Linked DNA regions of Homo sapiens: region 1 is linked to region 2. The links are contacts of gene promoters, found by promoter capture Hi-C in blood cells and fetal thymus (Javierre and others, 2016). All regions are on one chromosome and are shown on one strand. The core of a region is centred on a gene start or on the middle of the fragment in contact, and the rest is flanking DNA. Distances in the headings are between cores, read along the strand shown. Region 1 has its middle 20 kb from the start of RNASE10. Region 2 holds the start of RNASE11 (ribonuclease A family member 11 (inactive)).

The links. Contacts are between HindIII fragments. The CHiCAGO score rates a contact against its expected background, and 5 or more counts as called.
Region 1: a contact is called between a fragment that was not itself captured here and the fragment with the promoter of RNASE11 in region 2, in 1 of 17 cell types (M2 macrophages). The highest score is 5.9, in M2 macrophages.

What each region holds. Positions count from the first base shown.
Region 1 is chr14:20,522,769-20,528,988 of GRCh38, forward strand. It overlaps the pseudogene PTCD2P1 and the pseudogene SETP1. Among named protein-coding and RNA genes, the nearest start is that of RNASE10, 20 kb to the left of the region's middle. RefSeq lists a silencer at 4,366-4,576. The HindIII fragment of the contact is 9,274 bases long and covers 1-6,220 here.
Region 2 is chr14:20,585,761-20,592,373 of GRCh38, forward strand. RNASE11 (ribonuclease A family member 11 (inactive)) reads right to left here and starts at 2,241. Exons shown (of 3, transcript NM_001394190.1): 1 at 2,100-2,241; 2 at 1,803-1,865. RNASE11-AS1 (RNASE11 and RNASE12 antisense RNA 1) reads left to right here and starts at 2,464. Exons shown (of 5, transcript NR_122043.1): 1 at 2,464-2,558; 2 at 4,677-4,968. RNASE12 (ribonuclease A family member 12 (inactive)) reads right to left here and starts at 5,616. Exons shown (of 2, transcript NM_001024822.4): 1 at 5,499-5,616; 2 at 4,313-5,001. The coding sequence starts at 4,963. The coding sequence ends at 4,520. The HindIII fragment of the contact is 10,143 bases long and covers 1-6,613 here.

The DNA.
Region 1 (6,220 bases), core at 1,264-3,763, 63 kb before region 2:
CAGTATGGATTCATGGTTTCTTGTTTTATTCAATGAGTTATAAGTTGTCCCAGATTAGCCAGTGGAAGCTATTTTAATAGGGCTTCTGTGTGTTTTTGATGTATCCCTATTCTTTCTCCTCCTCCTCCTCCTCCTCTTCTTCTTCTTCTTCTTCTTCCTCTTCTTCTTCCTCTTCCTCCTCTTTTTCTTCTTCTTTCTCTCTTCTTCTTCTTTTCTTTGCTCTGTTGTCCAAGCTGGAGTGCAGGGGTGTGATCATGGCTCACTGCTTTCAAACTCCTGGGCTCAAGCAATGCTCCTACCTCAACCTCCTGAGTAGCTGAGACTACAGGTGTGCATGACCATGCCCAGCTAATGTTTGTTCTTTTCTTTCTTTCTTTCTTTCTTTCTTTCTTTCTTTCTTTCTTTCTTTCTTTCTTTCTTTCTTTCTTTCTTCCTTCCTTCCTTTCTTTCTTTCTCTTTCTTTCTTCTTTCTTTCTTTTTCATTTTTTGTAGAGATAGTGTCTCACTATGTTGCACAGGCCGGTCTCTGAACTCCTGGGCTCAAGGGGTCCTCCTGCCTCGGCCTCCCAAAGTTCTGAGATTACAGGCATGAGCCACCATGCCCAGCCTCCCCATCATTATTTAGGCAGTTCCTTGCTTTTAGAAACTACAAGATGGTCCAAGCTCATTTTATATTTTCCTTCCCCTGGAACCAGTCATTTTTCTAAGATGACCTGGTTGTGTTTAGTGACGAACAGTATTTTGAAACCTGGATCTGGGTGCTAGGTAGGTGCTCATTGCTGTTGGGGTGAGAGAGCTCTAAGGCTGTCTCAGTGGACATAGGTGGGAATATGGCAAATAGCCAATCACACTCACACTCACATGTATTTGCATGTATTTTCTCTTTTTTCTTTCTTTCGTTTTTTTAATTTTTGCTTACAAACCTTTTTTATTTCTCTTATTTTTGAGAAAATCTGATCCTACTGAACTTTGCATGAAGATTTCAAATCTATATGCAAATACGCATAGGCATTATTGTTTTGCATATGGAAAAATGAGGGCTCAAGTCATAGAAATATATGATGGCAGATCAGTGAGGAAATCCTGGGCTATTTTCTAACATGATAGAATAGGGTTTCAGACCTCTTGAATTCAGCAAGGATGTAATTTACAAGTAACTACTCCCTTGAAAATCAGAGTGACCACACTTGTAGTGAAATTCATTCCTGTGGTGCTTGCTGGATTCCATTCTGGTGCTGGAAGCTGGACTGGAGACTGACCATGTTCCTTCAGGTATCCTCAGCAGTGTACAAGGGAAGCTCCTTTCTGAGGGAACCATGCTTGCATGTAGACCTTCACAGTAGTGCAACATAACTTCTCAGAGATCAACATGCCACCATTCAGTGAACTTGGGAATTTCAAGAGGAGGCTAAGTGTCAGCACAGCGTCTACTGAAGTGCAATGCCTGCTTCTTAGGGAAGGCAACAACTCACTAGAAGCAGGCCCTTCAGATCCACAGGTGGATGAAATGAGGATTATTACTCAGCCAAAAAGGACCGGTTGAGTGGCTGGAAGGTCCAATGGCTCATCATCCTCTTGTTTAATAGCAACATATGGGATTTCCTGTCCCTGGGGGTGTGGCAGAGCAGAGTACCCAAAGTACAAGTGGTGACCTGGCCACTGATGTGCAGTTTTCCATAGATCTCATTAAATCTGGCCACAAGGGCAGGCATATCCTTCACTTTTCCTTCACTTTTGCCAGCACTTCCTCTGAGAATGCATGTCTTTTCACAAATTTTAATAAATTTCCTTCTGCAGCATTTTTTTAGTGTCTCTATCAGGGTTTCCAACATATTTGACTGGATATGGATTATAATAGTTAAGTTAGTGCAGGCTATGCTTTCTGGATTCATGGTTTGAGAAAAAAATGGACATAGCTTTTGCCACTTGGTTCTGATTCAGAGCTAACGCCACAAAGAAACGGGATGCTCTCCTGGAGGGAACCTCTCCTTTGAGTGGGGCTTCTTCTGTTAATGCAGAACAGATTTTGAAAGACTCAGCGCTCTTCAGTTTGTTGCAAACTGCAAAACTAAGAACATAGGATATTTGGTGAATTTCACAGCTTGATTTTTCATCTCTATCAATACTTCCAAAGCACTTTTATATTTGCCTTTGATAAATAACATATCCATCAAAATATTGAATGATGTGGAATCTGAGAAGGAATCTCATAAATGCTGGTCTTTCATGAGCCCCTCAAGATCCAACCCATAACAGACTCATGAAAAGTGGTCCAAACCTATACTCCCCCAAAGTGATATTTCTGTTCCCTGCATGGTACCTGTAAATGACATTTGTAGCCAGCTCCACATGGTCCTGGGACCCACAAAAATAAAGTAAGGTTATCAACTCCCCCTTCAAGATGAGCTTGTCAGTTTCTCTTCCAAATTCCTAAAATAGGTTTCTTTAGGAAAGATTACATGCAACAGCCACCTTCTTGTGCTGAAATTCTTTTAATTTCACAATACTATCTGTAAGTAGGTATCTGTTAGCTCTGAAAGGACAGCAGCCACAGGCAAAGCTGGAGGCTCCCACCCCAGGATACACCGAAATCTGCAGCAACCTGCAGGAGAACTCGATTCGAGGGCCTAAGTGCAGCACATGTATTTTCTTTATGTAACATGTAAGTTCTCACATGTATTTTCTTTATGTAACTATATTGAAAACCATACGTTTATACCAATACCTCAATTCAAATCCAACCCCACAAGCTCATATTAGGTTTTCTCTTCCCATATTTATATCTTAATTTTCTTATTTATAACTTTTTGACTTATAAATTTCTTCTCCCATATTCTTTAATATAGTTGCTTATTGCATGCATCTTCATGTATGTAACCAATCTCACCTTGCTGCCGCCATTCCCCCTCCCATATGGATGCCCTTTGCCCACTCTGGCTCTGACACTCTGTGCCAGGGCTGCCCCTCTACATGGGTGTCCACCATTTGGGCCTGGATATCTCACACTAGGCAACCCCTCTGAGTGGACATCTCCTCCACTTGCTCAGGCTGTGATTCTGCAGGCTGTGTTCCCCTCTCAGCCCCCTCAGACATCCCTCACCAGGGACACCTTTTCATCTCTCTTGGGTTCTGAGTTCTTATTCCTGTGCCAGATGGCCCCTCCTCATCAATGTCTATGACCTTGTTCTGCCCCACCTGGTGGCTTTAGGACTAAATGGTTTAGAAAGGGAAGGTTAGGGAAAGAGGACTTATATCTTTTGAAAATTCTATTATATAATAGAATTTTCCATATTGTTGAGTAGTCATTAAAAAGTTTTACTCGATATATTTTATTCTATTAATGTAATGTGATTTATTTAAGTATTCCCTCTTTTGTCACATTAAGGTGATTTCCAATCGTAAGTAATTTGGGCTGGGCATGGTAGCTCATGCCTATAATCCAGCACTTTGGGAGGCTGAGGCAGGTGTATCATGAGGTCAGGAGTTCAAGACCAGCCTGGCCAACATGGTGACACCCTGTCTCTACTAAAAATACAAAAATTACCTGGGCATGGTGGTGGGCGCCTGTAATCCCAGCTACTTGGGAGCTGAGGCAGGAGAATTCCTTGAACCTGGGAGGCAGAGGTTGCAGTGAGCTGAGATCGTGCCACTGCACTCCAGCTTGGGTGACAGAGGAAGACTCCATCTCAAATAAATAAATAAATAATTTGCAGGCTGTTTTCCCTCAAACGAATTCCCTCTAATGGTGTCCTCTACTAGGAAAGGTGTCCTGTACTCACTAATCCATCAAAGGTCTATTGACTTTACAACATATTAAGGTTTAGCTCAACTCCACCTCCCTCCCCTCTTCCTAATATAGCTATATTTCAGTTCTCTTGTTTACCTTTCTAACTTAATACTATGCTAATCATTTTAGTATCTTTTTCAGATAGGCACTGGGTATTCTGAGTTCCTATTTTGTAAAATAAGAATATTAGTATCCTTCTTTTCATTCACTCTCTTTTCGTCTGTGTCCCAGCTTCAGTCAACTGTACTTTACTTTTACATTGCCTTGATTGTTAATATTAATATTTAATTCTGTAACCAAAATTAAGACTTAAGTTCATTGACTGTAAAAGCTGAAAATTGATACAAAATATTTATATTCTTTCTTTCTTTATTTATTTTTGAGACAGGGTTTCACTCTGTCATCCAGGCTGGAGTACAGTAGTGAGATCTCAGCTCACTGCAACCTCTACTTCCCCAGCTCAAGTGATCCTCTCACCTCATCCTCCCAAGTAGCTGGGACTATAGTCATGTGCCACCACTCCAGGCTATTTTTTGTATTTTTCTGTGGAGACATGGTTTCGCCATGTTGCCCACACTGGTCAAACTCCTGCGCTCAAGCGATCCTCCCCGCTCAGCCTCTCAAAGTGCTGGGATTACAGATGTGAGCCACTGTGCCCAACCTATATTATTTTATTTTTAGTTTTTAATTTTTTTGTGTACATATTTAGTCTTATTGTAACAAAGCAACTTGTGCACTTTTAACGTTTAAAACTGAGCATCATCTTTTCTTTCCAGTGAAACGAAAACAAAATTTAAAAATAAACAGGAACAAAATTACAATCGAGAATGTCAATTCCAAATAAGATCCTACAGGTTCTGCTGATTCTCCCATTGAGTGGCAGGGCTCAGGTCATCATTAGGAGAGAATTTATTTTTAAAGTGTCATCTTAAACTGCAAGGATATCTGTCAAACATCACAAACATCCCAAGGAGAAGCCATGTTGTCAAAATGCCCACTTAACCCGGCCAAACATGTCAAAGCCACCCTTTGCTGACCTTCTAAAACCCCATTTTTTAGAACTGTTTTTTTCCTTTTTTTAAACAAAAGACAGTAGACAGATACATGTTGGTAAATGCTAACTGTCTTTATTCACATACAGGCACAGTGTACTCTCTGAGCTCAATATATAGAGAAAGTAGGAAAGAAGCTAGAATTCTCCGCACTGCCACACAGGGCCCTCACACCCTCCAGCTTCCAGCAGAGCAAAGGGAGCAGGTTTTTTTTTTTCCCCACAGAGCTCAGTGGTGTTGATTCCATACAGTTTTTGCTCAGACAGGAAGGGATAAAAATGAATTAAGAATAGAAAGAGGATAGAGGCTCTTTTCCCATTGTATTCTGCTCAAGGTATTTCCCTCCCAAATAAGTTGAAAACCATGGTGTAGAGAAAAGGGACCACGAGAACAGGGTTACTGAGCACAAGAAGCGGGGTGGGGCGGGGGAAAGACTGCAACTTGCTCCCAGGAACTGGAGAAAATTTCTTTAAAAGGAAGGTTGGAATCCATCAGTGTTCTATTAGTCATCTTCTCCTTCATCCTCCTCTCCTTCCTGCCCTTCATCACCATTGTCATCTTCTTCACCTTCACCCTCATCTTCTTCATCAATATTTTCTAATTCTTCCTCCTACTAATCTTCTTCTCCTTCTTCTTCTCCATCATCCATATTGGGAACCAAGTAGTACTATAATGGGTTTGGCCAAATATCACCTTTGATGACCTCTCCTAACTCATCAGCACCTTCATCAGAATGGTGGGTAAATCAGGTAGAGAAGCTCTCTGGTGCCTCATGCTGCCTCTTCCTGCTGGCTTTACTCTGCATCTGACTTTAATGTTTTGTCAAATTTTTTCTAAATTTCCATTTGATTTCAGTGGAATTTGCAGATGGATCACCACTCTCATTCAGATGAAATTCTTTGGAGACAACTTTGTTTTCAAAGTAAGGATTTTCATCAGAATAAAAACCTATTCTATAACCTGATTTAATATTTTCAAATTCTGTCATTTCAACTCTGATCAAATAATGCAGTGCCTCTTCCTCCTCCTCCCCAAGCAGTGCAGACACGTGGAGATGGTTGACAAATGTTGCCCGAAAATTTGGGATCTTGGCAATCAATTCTGACGTCTTCTGAAAAAATGGTTGCAGGAGTTTGTATTATTTCTGTTCTGCTTTCAAAATCTCCTCACTAGCTTGTTCATTAAGTCTATTTCTTTTTGTACTTCATCAATATGTTCAATTGCTTCTTGCTGTTCTTTTTCTCCCTTCTTCGGCAAGCCTACAGAGACTGATGTCTCCTCCAGTCTCAGAGCAGGAGGTAGTCTTGATTTCTTCTTTTGAGGTGGGAGTGGAGACGGGCATTTGGGGGCCATGCTGCTAGGGAAGTCCAAGAACCAGACC
Region 2 (6,613 bases), core at 991-3,490:
CACACACACTAATTTCTCAACACTATTTGTTAACAACATAACATGACCTTACTAGTATATAAAATCCTTTACTTGAGGTCAATCCTGGAAAATCCCTAAAGAAAGGTTATTTAAGTTAATAATTATTTCTCTCTCTTTAGAATGATTCTATTTTCCTCTTTTTTATGTTCCACCTCTAAAGCCACCATCCCTTCTACATTGATCTCCTACATTATTACCCTTACTTCCCTCCTAATCACCCCTTCCTGACCCTCCAATTTCTTCTATACACTACTTTTCTAAAAACATAACTTGCAACAACACTCAGAATTTTTGAAACATTCCTCTTTGCTCACAGTAGGAAGTCTGATCCCCTGAGCCCAGGAGCCAATGCTCCACTTGCTCTCATCTCAATCTGCCTATCGGGATTTATCTCCCATTATTTTGCTACACAAACCTGCCCTAGTCAATCAGTGTGACTCTTTTTTTAATATACCCTATGCCATCTCTCCCACTTAGCTTCTTTCTTGAATGGCTATTCTTTCCTGCCTCTTGAAATCCTTCAAAGCCCAGTTCAGATCTCATTCTTTATTTTACATGTTTCATCACCGCTTAAGTCTACTAAATCCATTTCCAACTTCTCTGAACTTCTTATCATTCCCTTCTTATACCACTCATTTGATGTTATTATGTATGAACTTTTAAAAAATTATATTTGAATTTAAAATGTCTGTGTGAGAAACTAGAGGAAAAACCTAGCACCAAGAATACATAAGCCTTAATTGGGTTGATGGATTATTGATAGATTATTAAGAATTAAGTATATGTGTCCAGGTGTGTGTCCAAGGATGCCTTGACCAAAGACCTGATACATTTTGAAGGCAGAAAGGATGAGGGATTTATAGGGAATTTATTTTGTTTCCTAAACTTCTATATCCTATACCATTGACATCAGTAGTGAGGTGACAATAGGGAAACAGAAAGACCAGGAGGAGAAAGATAAACAGGAAGAAGAGCAGGGCAGAAATTTCCAGTCTTTCTGAGACATATATTTCAAGTGGGCAGCATTCACAGCTGCCTAGGTTTTATTTGAAACTGCTAAGAGGTGCCCTTTAAAAAAATATACCTGGCTGGGCACAGTCACTCATGCCTGTGGTCTCATTGCTTTGGGAGGCCAATGCGGGAGGATCACTTGAGGCCAGAAGTTCAAGACCAGCCTAGGCAACATAGTGAGAATCCATCTCTACAACAACAACAACAACAAAAAGCCAGTTGTGGTGGCATATGCCTATAGTCCCAGCCACTCGGGAGGCTGAGAGGAGAGGATTTCTTGAGCCCAAAAGTCTGAGACTGCAGTGAGCTGTGATCACACAACTGCACTCCATCCTGGGCAACAGAATGAGACTCTGATCCTATATATCTGTATAATATATATGTATATACATATTTAGATACAGATAGATAGATATAGATACACACACACCCAAACTACGAATGTCTAAAATGTCACAATTCATTTGAATTTGGTGTTGATCCCTATTGAATGAAATTACTCTGAGGATACATCCTATTGGTTCATCTCAGTTATACTTTTATCTGCAAGATATTTTTAATTAGAAAGGAGGAGCTTCGGTGAAGAAGGGGAGAAAAAGCACTGAAAAGGAAAGAAAAGACAACAAAACCTAGGGAGAGGGATAGAAAAAGGAATCAGAATTCAGAAAATAGATGTAGGAACCTAAAGGATGCATTTCATCCACTTCAAAGTTTTGCCCAAAAAATGATGCTACCAAGGCCCAACAAATCATGTGCTAGGGACCACCTACCTGTTCCTGTTCAGTTTCTATTCAGATGCTGAGGGCTCTGTTTACCTGGTGACACCCAAAATTCTATGGAGACAACAATGACAACAGAATTACCACAGAGAACTAGAAAATGAAACTCAGCTGAAAAACGGCCACCTAAGATGGAAGAAGCCATGAGATGAGTAAGCGTTGCCTACTCACAAGGTTGCAAACTGTCCTTCACTTACGATTATCCCCCAACGCCCCCTCCTAAATCTGATCAATCGCATGGAACTTGATGGTTACAAAAGACAGAGCTAACAACTAGCGTAAGTGCACCTTCTTCTTTGACATGACCTTGAACTAAGTCCAAATGAGCAATGAACAGCTGAAGTCTCTCAACTGAAAAGATCAGGACAGAGAGTGCTCTCCAAAGCCTGTGACCCACCCATGCCTGCTCTAGGTCACTGTATGAGTCTCTAGCTCTCACATACAGGATTGAAATGCCATAGCTCAGAATTAGTGACAACATAATCTGGCCTTTATTTGCCAATTGCCCCTTATTTCTTACTACCTCACAATACAAATTCTCCCCTCCAACAATGGCTATAATATAGCCATTTTCTGTACTACTTAAGAAATAGAATTATAGACTAATAGACTTGGAAAGAACTTGAAAGATTATCTAATTCAAGATCCTCACTTTACAGACAAGGAAACTAATGAATAGAGAAGAAGAGGACTTCATGAAATCCCCAGAATTAGAAATCTCTCTTTCTCGTCCTTCTCCTTCTAGCTGTAAGGATACTATGCCCATAGCTGAATGTGGGGAAACTAAGCAGTAAGTCCAATTGTAAGAACTAAAAAGAGAAAAGAGTTAGTAGTCCGGCTCAAAGTCCTCTCTGTTCCTTCTGGAGACACAAAGAGGAGGTCACTGAGCTCTGAAAGTCTCAATCCCTCCCTGGGAAATCCTTATCTGTGTCTCTCTAAAGTCTTTAAGGGAAATGGTTTCAGACCAGTCAGGCTCCTTTCTTTATTTCAAGACACAAAGGGAGCTGCTGAACAGGAACAGATGCTGCCTGAGTTGTATATGCTATCTTTAAAAAAGACCCTAAGAGGTGACCTCTGTTGCTTCTACAGCTAGAAGCAGAGCTAGGATTAGGCTGAGGTTAATGAGACACTCACTCTAAGACCAAAATTTAAGAGAGTGCCACAAAACTCAATAATCAAGATAAATAATATTTTAATGCAACAATTTTAGAAAATATTTATTTATTTATTTTTGAGACAGAGTCTTGCTCTGTTGCCCAGGCTGGAGTGCAATGGCATGATCTCGGCTCACTGCAACCTCCACCTCCCAGGTTCAAGCGCTCCTCCTGTGTCAGCTTCCCAAGCAGCTGGGATTACAGGCGTGCACCACCACACCCAACTAACTTTTGTATTTTTAGTGGAGAGGAGGTTTCACCATGTTGGCCAGGCTGATCTCAAACTCCTGACCTCAAGTGTTCCACCTGCCTCAGCCTCCCAAAGTGCTGGGATTACAGGCATGAGCCACCACGCCTGGCCAGAAAATAAATTTAATGCAAAATAATCCCTGATGAACAAATGTTAAAATTTTAAATACCAGGATCTGGCCCTGCACTACGTTTCTCACATAACTCATCTTACCCTGATCCTAGCCTTGTCAGATTGGATCTTCAAAATTTTGTGATAGATATTTTGAGCATCCAAGATTTCTTTTTTTTTTTTTTTGAGACGGAGTCTCACTCTGCCGCCCCGGCTGGAGTGCAGTGGCGCGATCTCGGCTCACTGCAACTCCGCCTCCTGGGTTCACGCCATTCTCTTGCCTCAGCCTCCGGAGTAGCTGGGACTATAGGCGCCCGCCACCACGCCCGGCTAATTTTTTGTATTTTTAGTAGAGACAGGGTTTCACCGTGTTAGCCAGGATGGTCTCGATCTCCTGGCCTCGTGATCCACCCGCCTCGGCCTCCCAAAGTGGTGGGATTACAGGCGTGAGCCACCGCGCCCGGCGAGCATCCAAGATTTTTGCATTAATTTTGATTGTTTTAAAATACTGAAATCAAGGCCAGGTACAGTGGCTCACGCCTGTTATCCCAGCACTTTGAGAGGCTGAGGTGGGCAGATCACCTGAGGTCAGGAGTTTGAGACCAGCCTGACCAACATGGAGAAACCTCATCTCTACTAAAAATACAAAAATCAGCCGGGCGCGGTGGCACATGCCTGTAATCCCAGCTACTTGGGAGGCTGAGGAAGGAGAATCACTTGAACCCGGGAAGCAGAGGTTGCAGTGAGCCGAGATCGTGCCATTGCACCCCAGCCTGGATAACAAGAGCAAAACTCCGTCTCAAAAAAAGAAAAAGGAAACACTGAAATCAAATATATTCATCTAGGTTACTAGGTTTTTGGTCTTCTGGTGCCCTCTTAAGTTTTGCACCTCAAGTGAGTGGCTCATTCCCTTTATCTTAATCTCAGTCCTGTTTCTCATCAAAGGACCTAGAGATAAGGGACAAAAAATGGAAACACATGTAGAATTTATGGTTTAATTCAGTAAAGATTATTTTATTGAAGCAGAATAAAACAATCCCAACCCAGCAATACAGGAAGGATAAATTAATTACCAGTGGCTTCCCCTTCCGCTCAAGGCATTGCCCCATGTCCACGGTCCAGGTCTGCCTCAGGCACAGCCAGCTCCAATGCCATTGAGAGAAGAGATCTCAGACTCGGGAGCTGATCTTGAGTTATTTAACATAGCCAAGGAAACTATCTGGCCTCAAGTCATCACAAGTGACAAGAACAAACCCCTCTGTGGGGGAATAGTGGTACCTGCAGGCAGGGTATCTTGTGCCTTCAATGAGCTGACAGACTGTCATTTTGAACTTTGTCTCACTCTGAAAGCAGAAAATGGCCGAAAGGTTTTGGCAAGCAACCTTCTTGGGAGAAATGCAAATACCATTGATTTTTCGAGGCCTCTCATGGATGAAGACATGCTCCTTTTTACAAGTGTGGTCAGGTTCCCTGATAACTCTTTGTATGATCATGTGGTTGCAGTACCTTGCAGGAACGGGAACGTCATTCTGAGGGTAGTCCACATGCAAGTGTTCTAAAGTTGACATCACTGCTTCATCATTCACCTCATTTTCCCAGAACAGAAGCACCAAGAAAATTATCACCATTATTATCATCAGAGGTAAGAGTGACTTCGCATCTTTGGCTTTGACTGCTGTTGAGTAAGGGAAGATAGAAAGTAGCAAAGGACAGTCAGATTCCTCCTGCTCCAACCCCTGGCTGCTCCCCCATCCTTGGAATATTTTATTTCCTTCTCTCCACTAATTAAAATCACACTGACCTTGCAAGATCCAGCTGGAGGCATAGTTCCCCAAGAAAGCCTTTTCTGAACATGCCAGCTCTCAGAGTTTGGTACTGAGCTGTTCTCTAAATTATTCCTGTTGTGTTTGTTTTGTTCTACAAGTTCTTTGACAGCAGATACCACATCTCCTATTTCTCAAATCCTTCGAAGTGCTCAACACAGAGCTAGACATATAGAAAGTGGTCAAGGTTATTCATATTGCTGAATAACCTTCTTTCCCGTAATTTTCTCAACCTTAAATCCACCCAATTGCACATGATTTTAGTACCTTCTACTCATCTATTCTTCCCAATTCCTTCCAAGTCCCTCCCTCTGTCAATCCTGCTTGGCTCTGTGCTAGCTCCTCTCACCTGTCATTTTTCTGGTCACTGTCACAGGTAACATAGCCTTTTGATCATGAATTTGACAAAATCGCTTGTGTCTTGCTGTTCCCTGACAATAACTGATAGAGAGCCTGTTGTTGAATGTGGGGAGGGCCAAAGTAGAAAGAGCAGAAAGGAGGGACCCGCACAGGGTGTGCTTGGGCACCGCTGGGGAGGAAGAGAAGTTACCTCCAGCAGGACAGTCGGGTAAGGCAGGTCCTGAATGTGTCCTCATTAAACAAGTGAGGACTTTTCAGAACATTTAGTGAAGGCCAATGTGTGCCAGCCACAGTACTGTCTCCTTTCTAAATTTTCAATCAGTCCTTATGACAAATACATGAAATTTTTCATTTCATTGACAAATAAATGAGTTGTAGAAAAGGTTAAGGTGGAGATGGGAAGTGAGAAGGAAAGCAAGAGTCCCATCCTTTCAGTGCCAAACACTCGAATTCCAGTTTTAGCGAGTTTCATTTCCACCCGGCGTCCAGCACAGGACAAAAACAATTCCCTTGTAATAACGTTAATCTTGATAAAGCCCTGGGCTTCTGAGGAGTATGGAGACAGTTCCCAAACTGCTGAACGTTGGAATCAACGGGAGATTTAAAAAAGTATTGGCTTCCACCTTGATACATTCTGCTTTAACTGATATTGTGTGCGATCTGGGTTGGGGATTCTTAAAGGATCCCCACGTGATTCTAATATATAGCAAAAGTTATAAGGGGAACCACTGAACCATGGTATACATGGGAAACCCACATGGGAGATTAGTGGATAAAGGCTTAGCTAAAACACAGTGGTTCAAAGTATTGAGACCAGAGAATTATTTTTGTTGCTATCATCTCCCAGTTAGTTGATATAGGAACGGGCAAATGGACTTAGTTTTACTACTTCATGCCCTGAAGTCATTTCTCTTTTGGAGCGACAGGTACAAAATCTCCTCTGTGCATATCTGTGTCTTTCTAATTGGCAGGAAGAAAATAATCGCAGCGTAAAAAATTATCTAGGAAAAACAGAATCCTGGAGAAGCCTTCAAAGAATGCTTTTCTTTCTATACAAAAACGAAAGCAAAATTTCAAATTGTGAAAATGAGCAACCAGGAGAAT